2 separate regions of the Homo sapiens genome follow, and region 2 is linked to region 1. Evidence: promoter capture Hi-C in 16 types of primary human blood cells and fetal thymus (Javierre and others, 2016). All regions are on one chromosome and are shown on one strand. The core of a region is centred on a gene start or on the middle of the fragment in contact, and the rest is flanking DNA. Distances in the headings are between cores, read along the strand shown. Region 1 holds the start of ECT2 (epithelial cell transforming 2). Region 2 overlaps TBL1XR1 (TBL1X/Y related 1).

The links. The method cuts DNA at HindIII sites, captures the fragments that hold promoters and counts their contacts. A CHiCAGO score of 5 or more calls a contact.
Region 2: a contact is called between a fragment that was not itself captured here and the fragment with the promoter of ECT2 in region 1, in 1 of 17 cell types (fetal thymus). The highest score is 5.4, in fetal thymus.

What each region holds. Positions count from the first base shown.
Region 1 is chr3:172,748,307-172,753,088 of GRCh38, forward strand. ECT2 (epithelial cell transforming 2) reads left to right here and starts at 2,420. Exons shown (of 25, transcript NM_001258315.2): 1 at 2,420-2,551. RefSeq lists enhancers at 1,956-2,225, 2,326-2,375, 2,396-2,655 and a silencer at 2,766-2,835. The HindIII fragment of the contact is 5,304 bases long and covers 2,074-4,782 here.
Region 2 is chr3:177,048,179-177,051,477 of GRCh38, forward strand. It overlaps TBL1XR1 (TBL1X/Y related 1), which reads right to left. Exons shown (of 16, transcript NM_024665.7): 6 at 2,300-2,432; 7 at 1,819-1,960. Among named protein-coding and RNA genes, the nearest start is that of TBL1XR1-AS1, 12 kb to the left of the region's middle. The HindIII fragment of the contact is 3,036 bases long and covers 409-3,299 here.

The DNA of each region.
Region 1 (4,782 bases), core at 1,170-3,669:
TCTTGAAACACTATAGCACTTGAAACAGCTTCTGACTCAGTAAGACTAAGTTACTTGTATCATTGTTTTGTAGGTATTTGAATTCTGTGAAAACCTATGCATGCAATAAATTTTTCACCGCAAATACAGCTATCTGCTAGAAGTGCCATGAGAACAAGGCCCATATTTGTCTTGTCACACCTATATTCTCAGTGCTAGCATAGTACCTAATGGGTGCTTAATAGTTATTAAATGAATAAACTATGATTAGGTTAATCAGGACATCCAGTCTCTCAAACATTATGAATGAACTTGGATCTAGCTCATTCACTCTCGAAATATTTATTTGGTACCTACATGTGAAGATTCCTGTGTTTATTAGAGAGCAATGTGTAACATTTGCCTTTGCAGTACTAGCTTTTTGAAAATACCTGAAGATGAGGGATCATGTTTTACTTTACCAGACACCAGCCCTCTGCTAGGTGCAATTAAGTGGCATATGATCACCTATGCACACGATTATCTGAAATACTCCTCTCCACATTGCTTTCTTTGAGCCTGCAGACAGATCTATACTAGACTTTATTTACACTCATCTATTATTTCTGGGTTCTAATGCGGGCTAAAATATTTATTAGGAGACACTGGGTAAGTTACTTAAACCTTTCCTACAGTTTCATGGTATCATGGGACTATGATACCTACTTGTGGGTTGTTTTAAGGATTAAATAAGGTATAAAGTGCATAGTAAAGTATCAGTATGTTCATTCTCTTTCTTCTCTCCCTTATACTGTAATTATCTGTTTATCTGCTAATTTCCCTCACCAGATTGTGTGGTCCAGACAGGCAGTTTTCTATGCCTTATTCATCTTTATAACCCCAACAAGCACAATGGCTGTCTTAAAATTAGTAAATATTTGCTGAGTAAATGAAGACCTAAGAGAGTGAAAAAGGTTGTATTACCCGTTTATTTGTTAATCTAACTGCCACACATCCCTTAAAAGAAATCAAGTACAGCTTTTGTTAGGGAAGCTTAAAATTCATGGCAATGATACCATACACAGTTAATCATTAGCTTTGGAAAGTCTGTTGAGCAGAAAGCGGTGCACAAAGGAAGTAGGGCTGCTTCCCACAATAGCTTAATATGTTTTCAGTGATGAACGTTTTTGGAATGCTGGGCACACCCGACTTCCAAATACGCAAGCACATTCCAAATGGAAATTTCAATTACTGTTTTTCTTTTTTTCTGCCGTAACAGTTATCACAGCATTTTAATGAAGGTCAGACTTAAATACTGACAAGCAGGGAAACCAATAATTACCAGATTGCTTCATTCATTTTGTGGACAGCATTATAAACTTTTCAGGCATTCTAAGATTGCCTGACAAAATTAGAAAAAATTGTTAAGTCCCCACAACCTGCTTGAGATGCTCACAAGTGTTCCATCCCAAAGTACACGTTTGCCTCTTCTTATTGGTATTTAGGTTCTGGCATCTGATTCCCCTTTCTTCTTCTATTTATATTAGCCTTCAGGTGGGAACTATGGAAAACCCACCTGGTGGGGGTGTATTTTTCTTAAGAGATTGTGTTATATGGTATCATATTTAGAAAATAAAGAAATTATTTTCATAATAGCAACGCTAATCACAGGAAAAACTTGATACATTCTTGACTAGACTTTAGGGGAAAGTACAAGTTCTTAGTGGGCGGAGGGGGGCAAAGACGAAGCAATTTGGCTCCAAAAATTCTAGAATCTCGTGGCATATTTTTATCAAATTCAAGCTTATCTTTAAAAAAATCCGAGAATTTTTCTAATTTCTAAGAATTGATTCTAACCCGCGATACTCCCTAGATGGGAGCGCAGTGCTTTAAATAATAGCATTTAAATAAGCGGCTGCTGATTTGAAGTCCACCTGGGGAGTCCGAGTTCTAGGACCGGTCCTTGGCCCTGCCACACGCCAATACAACCATCAAAGTCAAAATCCCTTAACTCAAATTTAAATACATTCCTAAAGCAGAAAGCATCCCGATAGGAAAATCCTACAGCTCACAGCAAGCAGCAGGGAAACATTTATCTCTGGCGGCACTGATTTAAGCTTAAAAGATTTGGTATCGTTTAAAAAAAAAAAAAAGCTGGGTGGGGCCGAGGAGAATCCACCCAAACTTTCCTCAGGAAGTAGGATGTTTACTGAGTAAATATGCGGTAGTCACAGAAACACCTGCTACTCCTTTAAGACCTCAGGAGCCACCACCGCCACCTCCTGGCCACATCCGGGCACTTCTCTGCAAACTCCTGGCGTCCCGACGCCCGAGTCGTTGGGCTTATTTGAAACACACGCACAACCAATCAAGCGGCGCCTGCCGGGACTTGGAGAGCGTCGACCAATCACCGCCCCTCTGGAGACTCCTGCCTATGGGAAAGAGGTTGACATCACGCGCCAATCGGCATGGCTCTTAGAGAGAGCAGCTTAGTTTTTGAATCGGTTGTGGCGGCCGCCGGCGAGGAATGGCGGTATTTGTGAGAGGAGTCGGCGTTTGAAGAGGTGGAACTCCTAGGGCTTTTTTGAGAGTGGTAAGGACTCTGTGTGAGTGAGAGAGGTGCAAGTGGGCGAGCGGCTCCAGAGCCAAGGGCTCTTTTGCCTGCGGTCGACGTCCCCGCCCCTAGTGACCGCGAATTCCGGAGCGCCCCAGCTCAGGCTTCCCGGATCCGGGAACTCCCTCGCCGCACCCCACCCCCAGCAGCCGGGCCCTGACGCGGAGTGGGAGACCGAAGCCCCCAGTATTGCTGGGCATCTTCGCCCTCACCTGTTGGCTCTTTTGGACAGAAGAGTGTGGGTGAAGGGAGGGAGTTGGGAAAGGGATTTTGGCAAGCCGCGCAGCCCTGTGGCTTTGGGGGCCGGCACTTGCAGCCTTTGGGGGCTTATCTCAGAGTGCGCCGTGGTTTTATTCTAGGATTCATCCTGGCTTCTTTGCGGGAAGTTTAATTTTTCGTTTTTGCAAGATAAATCCAGGCCATCCGCCCCTCGTCCTCCCCAGCCACCCGGCACAGATGTGTCCGGCTTAGTGGTTAAAGGCGCAGCCTCTGGATTTAGCCGGGCTTTGAATACCTCTTTTACCCCTTACTAACAGTTTGACTTAGGGGAAGTTGCTTAACCTCTCTGTTCCTACGTTTCTTCATCCATACATTGAAAATAATAATAGTACCTGCCTCTTAGGATTACTGCAGAGATTAAAAGGTTTAGGACAATGTCTGCCACGTATTAAGCGTTAAGTAAATGTCAGTTGTTAATAGTAATGTTATTGTTAATAACACCACCATTATATCTTGGATTGCATTTTAGTCCTTCACCTTGGAAGATGATTGCCTAAAAAGTATTTAAGTAAAAGGAAACTTGAATGTTTGTTTACATGGCAAATTTTATCTCTGGGATAAAAGGGGGCATGTGTTATAGTGTGTTTAGTTAGAAGCTCCTTGGGTCTGTTCTTGGGTGAGAAGCTGTGTAGGTTTATGAACACTGATCCTATTGTGCTTATTTTAAAGGCTTCTGGAATACAGTAATTTGAAAAAAAGTGATTAATATATTTCCATTTCTAATCTGACTGTTGGATGTTAGTTATGTCATCAAGTTACCGTAGTGCATCTCTTTTTCTCTATACATTTTGAAGCTGTTTTGGCAATAAATTGATCATATACAGTATCATCAGGGGCAATTTTAATTATTAATCATCTGCTTTCGATCATCTGCTATGCTCCCTCCCTTTTATTAATCATCTGCTTTTGATCATTTGCTGTGCTCCCTCTTAAAGAGGGAGGCATAGGAGAAAAATGTAAATATTTTCAAGAAGTTTTTTTTTTTTTTTTAGACGGAGTCTACCTCTTGTTACCTAGACTGGAGTGCAGTGGCACGATCTCGGCTCACTGCAACCTCTGCCTCCCGGGTTCAAGCGATTCTCCTGCCTCAGCCTCCTGAGTAGCTGGGATTACAGGTGCCTGCCACCAAGCCCAGCTAATTTTTGTATTTTTAGTAGAGACGGGGTTTCATTGTGTTGGCCAGGCTGGTCTCGAACTCCTGACCTCGTGATCCGCCCGCCTTGGCCTCCCAAAGTGCTAGGATTACAAGTGTGAGCCACCGCGTCCGGCCTTTCAAATGGTATTTTTGATTTTCCTCTTCCAGTCCTTAAAGCAGGTTAGCTCATCTCCTGACTTTTTTTTTTTTTTAAACATTCTTTTAAGGGGACTTTGAATGAAAGCCACTTTAATGCCTTTTCATTGGAAATGGTTGAGTGTAGAAGACTTAAAATAATAGGGCTGGATAGAATTTATCATTGATTCTAAATTAAGGCTGTTACAACTATTGGACCGCTCCTTTGGAGAGCCTTAGAATAATGATTGACATGGATGTATGGTAAAGCCATAAGAAATATCCATATTGTGAATATTACATGAGAATAGTTGTTTGTTGTTCACTTTAAGACATCTATTCAGTTTTCATCTTAACTAGATTTGAGTTGTAGTACTATGTGTGTTCCACCAATGTGGAAACTGAGGTTTAACTGACTATGTGCAGGGCTGAGACAGGAAGCTGAGTTGCCTGATTTTGAAGTGTCACATAACAGCATACAGTTTAAACTGTTACTTTGCTAAGACTCTGGAGGAAGGTATTTGTATATTTTATTAATCTGAAGAAGTAGGAAAGGGGAAAGTCTGACATGTAGCTCTCGTTAAAGGTGGGTCCTCTGTATATTTGCCTAATATTTAGAAATTTACTCTCAGTAAAGTTGACTTATTGAAAATTGATAAAA
Region 2 (3,299 bases), core at 677-3,176, 4.3 Mb after region 1:
AACTGCCTACTTTACCAGGAGGAAAAGTCCATATAAATTTCTCTCAACTTATATTCCCTTGCTGTGCACCTTGCCTCGATGAATTGTGTAATAAAAGGACAGATCTAACCTACTCTATGCAAACACAGAAGTTACAGATTATAGTAAACAGACTATTGCTAGAATCAGTAAACATTACTGGAGAATGAAATCCTGCATTACTTGACATATTATTGATGGTTTTTGGTAAGGGCATTCAAAACAAGATCACCTATTTCACATCTCTCAAGCCATTTAGCAGTATGGCTAAGTGACAAACAAAAACAAATGCTGGTTCTGGGAACTGCAGACTCAATTCTGCTGGGATGTGGCCATCCCTTAGGGCTCTGTCTCAAGAAGAAGGGGAGCCATGTTGAAGTCAACAGTAAAAGCTTATTTCCACATCCTACACAATGTCAAGTTTCCTCTAAACTATCAGTCCCTAAATGTTTTAGTTCATGAACTGCTCAACTAGGAAAATACTGTAAAGATGAGAAATCTCACAGGCTCTCTTGCTTTAGCCATGGAAAAGAATCATTAATCGAGGATAATGTTTTCCAAGTTCACCGTGAATAACACATTTTTTAAAAGCCCACACTTTTCAAAACTATAAAATGCAGTTCAGAACTACCAAGCTCAACAAACCAATATTCATTAACCATCCTTTTCAGTGTAAACTATAAATTTCATTAACATGGCCAGTGGACCAGGTAGCGTAAGAAAGCTGTAAGATATCTGAACTAAAATATAATAAGGGCCCATATTAAGAAAATAATTCTGTCTTGATCTTACAAGTAAATAATACTACAATGTGCTAAACCCCTTTGGAATTTTTAGAATTGTCATATGGAGGGGAAGAGTAAATATGCTGCTGGCAATTTTGGAAGAAAATGCTAAAAATACCTAGCTATGATTTCTGAAAAAACATTTCACAGAAACTGAGAACTTTAGTGGGGATAATCATTTTAAAGATAGATCTCATTCCCGGGGAAAAGAATTGGAAGATCCTTTAGAAAGTCCACAAAGGGTTGTTAAACAGAAGAGAAAAGAACATTCATTTGCTGAGCAAAGAACAACTATCTTGATATTCTTTGCAATGCTGAAATAATCTAAGAGTTTTGGGGGAGGGGCAGGGGGTAGCGGAGCGAGGTAAGAGATGTATTTAAAACTATAATGGTGAGAATTTATCAACAACGAAGTCAAAGTTTTTTGTAAGTCACAGTAGTCAAGTTGTCCTGAAAGATGTTGAATCATACACAGAATCAGAGAATTACAAGATTCCTACAGTGGGAATAAAATTCAGACGTTGTCTAGACTAATGATCCCTAAAAGGAAATTGGTAATAAAGTTCTACCAGTTCACAGAATACAGAGAAAAACAAGAACATGTTTTTTGCTACACAGAATTCTTTTATCCCCTAAGGACTCGGTTGTTATAGATTTAGTATGTTGTTTGTTATTATGGTAAGAATTTTCACCTATTATCTCAAATATTTAGGTACCATTTTCACACTTCTACTTGACATTTAAAGAAAATGAAGTACAGAGTAAAAAGTAACAATTTAACCAAGGATATGCTGTGGGATACACTGAAGAGCTGGATGTTGAACCTTGGTCTGACTAAGGCAAGTCTGTGTCCCACAGTGGGGGAGAGGGCTGGCAGGGGACGACTCCCGGTTTGTTGTTACTAGTTAATAAAACCCCAAATTCTGAACAAATAGACAAACCCTGCCGTGAGTATGAGGCTCTGAGGGTTAGGTATACTAGTAATTATATCCATCATGGATATAGTGATACTCACATTCCAATCTAGAGATGTGACATCCTTGTTGCTTGGAACATCTTGCCCTCCTTCTCGTATACAATGTCTAAGTACTAACTGTGTAGAGCCACTGGTGCTGTTCTCACTAAGATTCCATATTCTTGCTGTTGAGTCTCCAGACCTATAAAAGTATGCAATATATTTTAGATCCTCATGACATTCTCACGTATCAGAACAAGGCAACATATTTACATCTGAATATTAATAAGGCAAATAAAAACGACTATCACGAATTTTCATTTCCAGTATTTTTCCCATTCTACACGTTGGGACCCCCAAGCATTCTCGAAATAGTAAGTTTAATTAAAAATTCTACAATTACTTCATGAAGGAATAAAAAATTTACAGAGACAAAATGGCCACAACTAAGCAACAACAGAAAACCTGAATAATGCATATGTTTATAAAATGTTCAATAAGATATTTTTAAGTCATTTTAGTATCACTTTGAGAAACATACCCTGATGCTAGGAGATCACTAACAGGGTTCCAGGCACAGATAAAAACTTCAGATTCATGGCCCCGCAACACAACAGCTTTATTAGGAGGGATTTCAACATCCCCATCCACTTCCATCATATCAGTATGATTATCTGCATCGTGAAACACAAGTAAGCATTTCCAGTTAGGCAGTATTACAACATGGTGGATGGGTGATTTCTTAACTAGCAAATACCTTCCTTTATCGCACACAGTGTAACATTTTTCAATTATATCCAGTTAAGCTGAACATGACTACACAGTCTTAGTCACACAGAAAATAAATTCTTATCTTTAATTAAGTATTGACCACATACTTTTTTTTTAGAGGGGTGGGGGTGGGAGTGGGATGGGAGACTTTAAATGATTAGACCTAAACATGGATAAAACGATAAAATGGTTTGAATTAAATATAATGTCTATCAGTACTATTCTGAGTTTCTGCCAGTAGGGGTTGCTGATATCATTCATATAACATGAGTTGCCTTTTATCTCGATGTCAGAGCTCTATGGTTATTTGTTGATAACTAGTATTACAAATTTTATTTAGAAATCAAATGTAGATGTAAAAATTCATTTAACAATGGGAAAAGGGTTTCTAGATATTTTAAAAAGAAAATAAAAGTAAATCTAGCTTTTTGGAGCTTTAGGAATAAAAATCTGAATTGAACTGTGTGATACAAGTTAGGGAAACAAGTTGGTGCAAGTTAACAGATGAAATTATTTCAGCATAGAAGATGGGGCATTTCTTCTGAGAAAAAATTTTTAAAAATTCTTGTCTCCTGGGACCTTCCTGGGGGGTGGAGGGTGGGAGGAAGAGGAGGATCAGAAAAAATAACTATTGGGCACTAGGCTTAGTACCTGGGTGATGAAATAGTCTGTACAACAAACCCCTGTGATATGAGTTCATCTATATAACAAACCTGCACATGTACCCCGAATTAAAAGTTTAAAAAAATAAATAAATAAACCATGTAATT